Linked DNA regions of Homo sapiens: region 1 is linked to region 2. The links are contacts of gene promoters, found by promoter capture Hi-C in blood cells and fetal thymus (Javierre and others, 2016). All regions are on one chromosome and are shown on one strand. Each heading gives the region's core, a stretch centred on a gene start or on the middle of the fragment in contact. The rest is flanking DNA. Distances are from core to core; before and after follow the strand shown.

Region 1 (5,298 bases), core at 2,596-5,095, 350 kb after region 2:
AACTGATTTTAAAGGAAGGGTAGCAGTTAGCTAGAGAGGAGGGCCGTTGTATGCGCCAAGGAAAGAAAAAGGAATGTTTGGTGGTGGTTGGACAGTAGGATTTTGGGGGTGAATGGGGGCATGAGACTGGAAAGGAAGCTTGGGGCTGTATGATAAAGGGCCTTGAATTCCAGATTCAGACATTCAGACCTTATTGTGTAGTTTAAAGCCATCGATGTCTCTTCTTTTCACCTCTTCCTCTCCCAGACTCCCTCACCTAGGGCCTATATTCAGAGGTCGAAGCCTATGGTGTCAAAGTATGGAAATGGAGCTATACAACGCTAACTTTTAAAATCCCTTAGTACCACATCATTGATCTCTAGACTGATGGGTTAACATAGCAGGTCCTGAATTCAATCATTTCTTTTAACCCATGTTGAGATTCTGCCATGTGTCAGGCCCAAGTCAGCTTCATGGGCTATACCACCCATGACCTTTTTGTCACCAAGGGCTAAGACAAAGCTAGGACAAGCAAAACGTCATGACTTAAATAACACATTCTTCTGTAGTGAACAGGTCTCCTGGTCCTCTCCAGAGGTAGGCTGGACAGTCACAGGCTGTATGTAGTGTGTATCCCTGTTCTCTGGCTGATTGGCCACAACTCAAGGATGGATCTAAATACTAACCAGGGACTTGGCGTTGTGGCTTGTCAGGCAATGATGAACTGGGCCACTCAGCTTCTTTCATTGCAGTTTGAATTAAGGAACGTGAAAAATGGGAATCACTAGCCGTGGCTGCTGAAACAAAAAGGGATTGCAGTGTCGGGCTGGAAATGCCACGTGTAAAAGTGATTAAGGTTATTCACAATTTTTTAGGTTTTCTCCCCAGTCAATGTCGTGGTAGCATTGTACATCCCACCCAATTAAGTTGGCTGTGGCCATTTGACTTGCTTTGGCCAAGGAAACGTGAGCAGAAATGACTTCTGGTGGATACTTAAAGAGCTCACGACTAACCATGTTCATTTTTCAAGACTGTGGCTGCTCTGTCATTGTGGGTTTTCAAGTGGCTCCCTCTTTCCCCCCAACTAACCCTTGGTGGACATGTAGTGAGAATAAGATATAAATCTTTGTTATTTTAGGCCACTGAGATTGGGGGTTGTTTGTTACTGAAGCATAACTAGCTTCTCCTGACTAATACAGCACAATAGGCATGCATCAGCTAAGTTATGAAAAAGCAGAGAAGTGATTATAGAGAAAGAATGAAGCAGGCATATCAAGATAAACAGAAGCACCATTTAGAGAAAGAGATTGGGAGAATATGACCAAATTTCAGTTCCAGGGGTCCTTATAATAACCCCCTGTATTTCTTGAGGTTACATAAGCGAGTCTATATTCCTTGAAAGTAAAAAGCTTACCAAATCATGGTGGCATGACAGCCTGCACAACATTCAACATTCTTGGCCTAGAGGCTCTACGTGATCACCACGAACATGCTTGGAATTTCCAGATTTCTCCAGTGCCTGGTATTCAGTCATTTCTCAATGAATGTTTGTTGAACAATTTTTTTTATGACTGACAAGTCCAGCTTTCTTACTGACTTACAAGAAAGTCTGGGAAGGTAAAGTAACAAATCTAGGTTCAAAAGATCTTGTTTCCATTCAAAATATGGGCTCTGTGTCTTATTTCATGAAGAATGAATATAAGTATTGTGATAGGGTAAGACAAATGTCTCCAAATATTTATTGGACACCTTTTGTGTGCAAGACATTTAGGGCTTATGGGATCCAGGGAAGCAGACAAAAGACATGGATCTTTTTCTGTAGGAAAAGTGTCTATGTATGATGCAGGGAGAACCCTCTCTTTGGGAGTCATTTAATATGTATTTCCCATGGCATGACCATCAGCTCAGTTGGTCACCTGGGGCCCTCTATAGTTATGAGGATCACATATCTCGGGTTTTCTAGGAAAGCTTTAATATTAAATATGCTGCCTTTTTCCTTCCATAAAACACTTGTATGTGTCATACTACATTTATCAATATTTGGTTACAAAGGAGAGTCAACATGAGCATCATTTCCCAATGTGACACCTTTAACAGGAATGCCCACTTGAATATGTACATCAGGGTTTGTTTGTTTGAAAAAACAAAATGAAAACCTCATTACCTGATAGTCACCCCTTGTTTAACAGCAATAGCCCTGCCGGTGTACTGTGACTCCCCCAGAGTCAACAGTGCTGACTGAAGCAATTAAGGGAAAGTGAAGAATCTATAATTAAATGGAGAGACGACTGCTTCTTCGTCTCTTTTGGAATGCAGCGTTTTATGCTCACGACTCAGTGTCCCTGGAACAAGATACGGCATGCTCTCCTCAAACACTGGGAGTTGTGTTTCCCAAGGGTTTGTGATGCTACCATCAAGGCCTCACAGAAAATATGCTATGCTTCCTGGGGGCGGGGGGTGGGGCTGGTTTGGATCTCTGAGAAAGGTCTTTAGGCCATTTTCAAGGCGTGCCTGCCTTTATTGTTTAGTAACACACAGCTGGTCCTGATTCTTTGGAGAGGCCCTTGAGCACGCTTATTACCTGGAATGTTTGCATGGGCAAAATGATTGTCCCAGTACAAAAAAAAAAAGGCATAGGAGTTTTCCTGCCTTACCTCTTATTGTCTGTCTCTCAACAGTAGCAACTCAGTGTAGATTTAATCAAGCTCCAAGTGTGGCAGATTTAGCTGTCTTAAGAAAGGCGATATTCCTTCATGTTTGTATAGTTTATAAAGCACTTTCAAGTTCATTACCTCCTCCTCCCAACCTCTTATGACAGCATCAGGATGAGTTCTCTGATTTTCACTCTGTACATGAGAAAACCAGGCCGAGCACAGTGGCTCATGCTTGTAATCCCAGCACTTTGGGAGGCCAAAGCAGGAGGATCACTTGAAGCCAGGAGGTCAAAACCAGCCTGGGCAAATTTGTAGAGCTTCCCCCCATCTCTCCAAAAAACTTTAAAAATTAGCGGGGCATGGTAATTCACACCTGCGGTCCCAGCTACTCGGCAGCCTGAGGCAGGAGGATCGCTTGAACCCAGGAGTTTGAGGTTGCAGTGAGTGTGCCACTGTACTCTAGCCTGGGTGACAGAATGAGATCCTGTCTTGAAAAGAAAAAAAACCTAAACCAAAACAAAACCACACACACCAAGGGCAGTAACTGGTTCAAGACCACTCAGCTGGGAGGTGGCAGTGCAGGAACAAAAATGCAGATATCTGAACTCTCAGTAACAATGCCCTTTTCATTCATTCATTCCCAGCCTGTTTTTAGGTTCAGTTTGATTTCATATTTATTTTATGTTATTTTTATTATTATTATTTTTGAGACGGCGTCTTGCTCTGTTGCCTAGGCGGGAGTGCAGTGGCACTATCTCCGCTCACTGCAACCTCCACCTCCCGGGTTCAAGCGATTCTCCTGCCTCAGCCTCCCGAGTAGCTGGGATTACAGGCATGCGCCGCCACACCCAGCTAATTTTTGTATTTTTAGTAGAGATGGGGTTTTACCATGTTGGCCAGGCTGGTCTCGAACTCCTCACCTCAGGTGATCTGCCCACCTGGGCCTCCCAAAGTGCTGGGATTACAGCCGTGAGCCACCGCGCCTGGCCTTATTTCATATTTAAAAGCAATACATTATAAGGGGAAGGGGGGGGTCGCTAAGGTCGTTTCTACACGCAGAACGTGGTTAAAACATGATACTAATGAGGCTAAGATTGAAGGGTTGCCCTGACCTGCATGGGCCAGCTCACAACAGAAGCCTGGGCTCCTAAACCCTCCCACCCACTCTCAGTGATGGGAGAACCTAGTGAGAAAATGTTGTTAAGCCACCAAAATCTTTTTCCACTCTTGTGTTTATGACCAAAGGAGGGATAATAAGGACATCTTGAAGATAGAAAGGTGAGTATGTTAATTTTATTCCCAGTAGCTTTAATGGAGATTTGGGGTAATCAATAGATATCTACACTTGATTCCCTTAAAACCCTTGGGTTTGCAAAGGAATGAGCCACCAGTTAACCCAGGCAGTATGTTTGGGGGGAAAATGAAGAGAAAATTTGGGGCAAAACAGCAACTAGTGCCTCCTTAAGACCCAGCCTGCGCAGAAACGAAAGCGTCTGTACAGACTTCGCAGTCCAGAGCCTTGAAGGCCACGTCGGAGCCTTGGACTGGTTTCAATCATGACTTCCCAGCAAACCCTGCATTCTTTTCCTATTGAATGCCACCTGCTCATTTTTATATTTTTATACTTGCTTCTCAAGTTTCTGCTGATGTCCTTAACAGGAACATATGTGGAGGTGACCTTTGCAACCTCCTGAATGGCAAGTAAAGCCCCACCCTTACTTTGCAGACCATGAAATTCGATGCAAAAAAAAAAAAGCCCATGGAGGCGGATGGCCCAGGTGCCTCTCCTCTACTTGAGGTCTCGCTACAACCCACTCAGGCTCTAGGAGGCAGCCGTGTTAGGTAAATTCAAGATTAGGATTTCTAAACTTTTGTTTCTGCACCTATGCCAGACCTAGTGCTAACAGCTTAATTCTCAGTGGAGGTTATTTGATTTAGAGGCCTATGGGTGGGCCTAGGTTATTAAAAGTAAGCAATGGGCTTTCTTTTGGTTTTGTAAAGACCCTTTCTTGGCAGACTAGCAAAACCCATTTCCCCAAGGTTTAATTGGTTAACATGTAGGTTTAATCAAGCTCTATATGTGGGGGAATTTAGCTGTCTGAAGAATGGTGATATTCTCTTATATATGTGTAGTTTAAAAAGCACTTACAAGTTCGTTACCTCCTCCTACTCACCTCTCATGACAGCATCAGGATGAGTGTGCTAAAAGCAAAACCTTGTACCCCAGGGTTTAGCACTTTCTTCTGGGACCCTGAGTTCTTAAGAGAACCTGTTTTCTTGCTTTGATAGAAATTGCTGTTCCTCAATAGAAATGCTTCTCTGAGTATTTTGTCCTGAGGACCATTCTACCTCAGGAACTTCAGTGGAGGAAGGAGCCAGACTTTTCTTACTGCTTAAGGCGGAGGAAACTGTTCTTTTGCTGAGGTACTGCTGCTTGAGGAGGGAGCTCCATCAGGGCTGCCGGCAGAGTTCCAGAAGAGGCCAGTATTTTTAGCATGGCCTTCTTCACTTCCCAGCACCTGCCGTGATCTGTAACCCAAGGGGCTACTTAAATGCCACTGAGATGACTGAGGACAAGGCAGCCTGAGCTAATGTCCTAAAATACCACCCAAGGGAGGTTTTTCTTTTGGGAGCCATTTCATTTCTACCTCTTCTTGTTCCTTCC
Region 2 (5,063 bases), core at 2,306-4,805:
CAGATTCGGTCTCTGCGTCTTTGAGCCTGCAGTGGTTTCTCCCCAAGCTCTGTGTTCCTCTAGTCCATTTAATCTTCTAAACAGACAGACTGCCCTTGATGACAAATCTGAACAAGAGAAACACTCCTGCACCACTCCAGAGCTCACTCGAGGCCCTCTATCAGGCAGAAAAGATGATCCCTAAGCCTACTGTGGTCTGGAAGTGCTTGTAACAAGATTGTCTTTGTAACAACTTCCTTAAGGAGACTTCAAAGCCCTTTATTAACCCACACAGTAGCTGAGCTGGTAGGGACAGAGCAGTAACACCCCTTGAAATGTGGGTGGCATCTGCTTTTTGGTGGCTCTTGGAGGAGAAGTTACTCCATCCCTTCAAACCCACCACGGACAAGTGGCTTCATTGGTCACTAAGGCTGGCCTGAGAGTGTGCACAGGCTGAGGGTCAGCACAGATGTGAGATCAGAGAGGGCTTGTCTGGCTGCTGTGGCCAAGAGAAGAGGGCATGACAGGCCAGGTCACAAACCCAGGGGTCCTGTACCAGAACTGGGGTGGACACCCTTCCGCAGCCCATGTGACCTGAGCAGTGTGCATAGGCAGCAGTGAGTAGGATCATAGAGCGGGGAGGAAACCGAGCCTGGCCCCTGCAGCGGTGCAGAGACACACGGAGGGCCCAGGGAAGCCAGAAGCACAAATGACTACAGTGGTGGCAACAGCAGTGGGAAGATTTAGGGGGTATTGGGGCAGCAGGTTAACAAGACTAGAGAAACACTCCTGTTTCTCTAGCACAGCCTGTAGGTCTAGCACAGCCTGTAGGGACAGAAAGGTGTGATCCCTTTCCTCCCCCATCATAAAGGTCACAGTTGACACTCAAATAACAAAAGACAGGCCAACAAGTGACACAAGAGACTTCAGAAATGAAGACCCAAAGACTCAGGGAGAACGGTGTTTCTGCTTAGGTTTGATGAAGAACATGGATGGCCGTATAGAAATGTGATTGGAGAGAAGGGTGTGATCTCATAGTGATAGACTGAGGGGAACCCAGCAAGGCCTGTCCGTTCCAATTCTTCTTGACCTCTCTGTGTAGCATTGCTTTCTCCTGGGTATGGGGCAGGACCCCTCTCGAATGAGGGTCTTTAAAGGAGAAGGGAGAGGGGAGAGAGTGATGTTTCTAGATTTTATGGCTTGCTGTGGAGGAGAGGGGCTCTACTTTCTATGACCTGCCTGGGGAAGAGGGATTCTGGTTTCTATGATTCACTTAGCGGGAGAAGAAGGGGCAGGAGACAGGAGGATGGGAGAAGGTCAGAGAGACCTTGTTTCTGAGGCCTTTTCAGTTTCCTTCAGTTCAAAGTACTCAGCATGCCAAGGTGCCATACTTTGGGGTATCATGTTCTAAGCCCCCCAAAAAAGTGCCTGACACACAACGGGTGCTCAGTAAATAATGTAAGTCCCTTTCTTCTGCTGCCACCCCAAAAGAGGGACCCTCTCTCCCAGCTTCCTAGTGAGGATGGAATGATGTATTGAACCAGCATGAGTCCCATCTACTTACCCGTTACTAAGGGGAATTGTGATAAGCTCTTCATGTGTACCCCACTGTGCTGTTCTCCTATTCTCAGTTCATCTCTTTGCATCTCAACTTGGAAGGTAAGAACTTAATCAGGATGCACTGAACAATTGGCAGAAACTCATGTGAATGTAACTATCTTGTCCAGTTCCTTAACCTGTGCTAAGTCCAGGCAGGCACCTGAAGAAAAAAAAAAAAAAGCATGAAGGAGGCTTTTGCCCAAATGGCACTATACTTGGGGGATTCTGAGTAGGGCTGAAACAGCCTTTGCAAAAATTATAACTGAGGAAATTATGGCAGTGACAAAGATCAGACCTAAATGACTCAGTCTTTCTTCTAACTTTCATGCTGTCCTTATTCATTCCTGGGCATAGGCCAAACTAACCTTAGAAAGGAATTCAGTTTATGGTTTGACTCAGAAACAAAATCAATAATAGCCCTTTCCCGAAAAGACCCCCTTCTTGCCTGGGTGCCAGTCTGCCTTTGTACGATTAATCTATTAGTTACAACATTAGAAATTATGGTTTAGGGGTCCTGCGGCGTCAGGCTGCAAGAGTCTGAACCTTCCCAAGTTGCTGCTGGGGATAACATCGCTATTGTAAAATCTAACATCCTATTTTGCAGACCCTGCACTGGATGGATCAGCTGACACCACTCAGACCGTGTGTGATCTGGCTCAACCAGTTCTGCGATCCCACCCAGGAACAGAAGACTGCAAGAAAACGTTACTTCAACCCCCCTGTGATCCCATCTGCAACCTGACCAATCAGCACTCCCCAAGTCCCAAGCCCCTATCTGCCAAATTATCTTTAAAAACTCCCAGAGGCAGGGTGCAGTGGTTCAACGCCTGTAATCCCAGCACTTTAGGTGGATCACGAGATCAAGAGATCAAGACCAGCCTGGCCAACATGGTGAAACCCCGTCTCTACTAAAAATACAAAAATTAGCTGGGTGTGGCGGCGCGTGCCTGTAATCCCAGCTACCCAGGAGGCTGAGGCAGGAGAATCGCTTGAACCCGTGAGGCAGAGGTTGCAGTGAGCCAAGACCATGCCACTGCATTTCAGCCTGGGCGACAGAGGGAGACTCCGTCTGAACAAACAAACAAACAAACAACTCCCGGAATGCTTGGGGAGACTGATTTGAGTACTGGAATCCCAGTACTTTAGGAGGCCAAGGTAGGTGGATCATTTGAGGTCAGGAGTTCCAGACCAGCCTGGCCAACATGGTGAAACCCCGTCTCTACTAAAATTAGAAAAATTAGCCGGGTGTGGTGGTGGGCGCCTGTAATCCCAGCACTTTGGGAAGCCAAGGCAGGTGAATTATCTGAGGTCGGGAGTTTAAGGCCAGCCTTAAACTGGCGAAACCCCGCCTCTACTAAAAATACAAAAATTATCTGGGCATGGTGGCATGTGCCTGTAATCCCAGCTACTCGGGAGGCTGAGGCAGGAGAATCGCTTGAACCCGGGAGGCGGAGGTTGCAGTGAGCCGAGATCACGCTATTGCACTCCGGCCTGGGCAACAGAGCGAGACTCCGTCTCAAACAAACAAACAAAGGAACGAAAACCTCCGGTCTCCGGCACGGCAAGCTCTGCGTGAATTACTTTCTCCATTGCAACTCCCCTGTCTTGATAAATGGGCTCTGTCTAAGCAGCGGGCAAGGTGAACTCGTTGGGCTGTTACAGGACCAGTGACAGACCAAGGGCATGCCACTGAAGGAATCCCTAGACGCACCCTTCTGGATGTGAGACAGGCGGATCTCACCCACGCCTGCCAGCAGCTCCTCGGAGAACTGTGTTCCTGGGTCAGCCCTGGCCCAGAGGAGCGCCGGGGACCCGCAGAGTGCTGCTGAAGTCAAGGCTACAACTCACCTAGGATCTGGGGCGCCAGCCCTCCGGTGGGCAGGGCGTTCTCCTCCCCCACCCCCTCCCCGCACGATGACATCAAGTGTTTGGCGTTGAGTTGCTCCATAAAAGCTGCCCGGGGAAGCCAGGAGAGCGAAGGGCGGACGTACTCGCCACGGCACCCAGGCTGCGCGCACGCGGTCCCGGTGTGCAGCTGGAGAGCGAGCGGCCACCGGGAGCCCCCGGCACAGCCCGCGCCCGCCCCGCAGGAGCCCGCGAAGATGCCCCGGCGCAGCCTGCACGCGGCGGCCGTGCTCCTGCTGGTGATCTTAAAGGAACAGCCTTCCAGCCCGGCCCCAGTGAACGGTAAAGTTTCCGCCTGCTTCTTTCCTAACACTCCTGAGCGCTCAGCCGCCCCTGGGCTGAAGGCTCTTCAATGATAAAGTAAAATCATTGCTGCGGGGAGCAGGGAAGGTGTAGTACCAAATAGTAGATTCTCAAGAAAGGATGCTCCGTTTTCCTTTGCTGAGGTTGGGTCGGGAAGCACGTTGCTTTCTAGTGGCGCTTGGCGCAGATTTGGTGTTAAAATGTTTGCGTGTACTCCCGGGCACCGCCAGCTCTGAAGATGTGGCTTGGGAACTTGCTAACCAGGGAGGAGATGCAAAGCCAAGATTTAAAACAGCGTTCCCCTGATCCACGTTTAGAAAGTAGAGACATGACTGTGGCATTCTGATTGGGGTAAGCACAGAGAAAGGTTTGCTGTGCCCCTGTGCAGAACCCGCAGACAGTGGTAGGCGCTTTTCTTTGGAGGAGAGGATCTTTACCATTAAGTCTTACCTACAAGTCAAAGGGATGATGCATCCCATTCTTAATCATTGTTTTTCTCCAGGAGGGCTCTACTATGCTGAATGTACGTGTGTGTGCACGTACACACACACACGCACGCGCGCACGCACACAAACCACACACACACACACACACACACACACAGCATATTTCTGATTGTAATTAGAACACTAAATCCCAAAAGGCTGGAGGCTGAGGGACTGAATGGAGGCTCCGTGGAGTGACAGGAGGAGGTGGCAGAGGGGACCTGAACTGTGGGCTCACGCCGGGCCAGTGAGCTAACACGTGTACAGCCAAGGCTGGTTCATTAATCTTTTGGAATAAGAAAGTGATTTTGGACCGAAAGTGATTTTACTGGCTGAAACTAGATTCTTCCTGGCGAGGCAGTGGTGGTGGGAAATGTGTCCTGCTCAGCAGCATAAAAGCTCTGAGCCTCCTCTCTTGGAGGTCACAGTGCCCATGGGGAAGGGCAGGGGAGCCAGGCTGTGGATAACTCTTAATTAAATTCCAGTCAACTAGCTGGCATGATGTGCTTGATATTATCTCCCTCATCTGGTCAGGGAGAAACAGAAGCGATGTAACAGAAGTTGGGAGAAAGGAGCGATGTAAAAGTGAAAATCAAGTTTTAAAACCACAAACTTTACATGTTTCCTTTTACGAAAGCTGCACTGAGACCAAAGTTTCCCTGGAAATCTCTTTAGTCCTAAGTTGCTCCAAGACCAAAGGGAGAAACAGCCATTAGTTGGCCCTCTTTCCTATAGCTGGTTGCTCCTCTCACTCTGGGGCAGCTCTGCCTCCCTTCTCTCTCTTTTCCTGCC

Evidence for each region. Contacts are between HindIII fragments. The CHiCAGO score rates a contact against its expected background, and 5 or more counts as called.
Region 1: a contact is called between a fragment that was not itself captured here and the fragment with the promoter of CA12 in region 2, in 1 of 17 cell types (activated CD4 T cells). The highest score is 6.1, in activated CD4 T cells.

The regions. Positions count from the first base shown.
Region 1 is chr15:63,035,299-63,040,596 of GRCh38, reverse strand. No RefSeq gene overlaps it. Among named protein-coding and RNA genes, the nearest start is that of TPM1, 4.8 kb to the left of the region's middle. The HindIII fragment of the contact is 3,792 bases long and covers 1,950-5,298 here.
Region 2 is chr15:63,380,338-63,385,400 of GRCh38, reverse strand. It overlaps CA12 (carbonic anhydrase 12), which reads left to right and starts at 3,555. Exons shown (of 11, transcript NM_001218.5): 1 at 3,555-3,765. The coding sequence starts at 3,681. RefSeq lists enhancers at 2,831-3,350, 3,351-3,871. The HindIII fragment of the contact is 7,810 bases long and covers 1-5,063 here.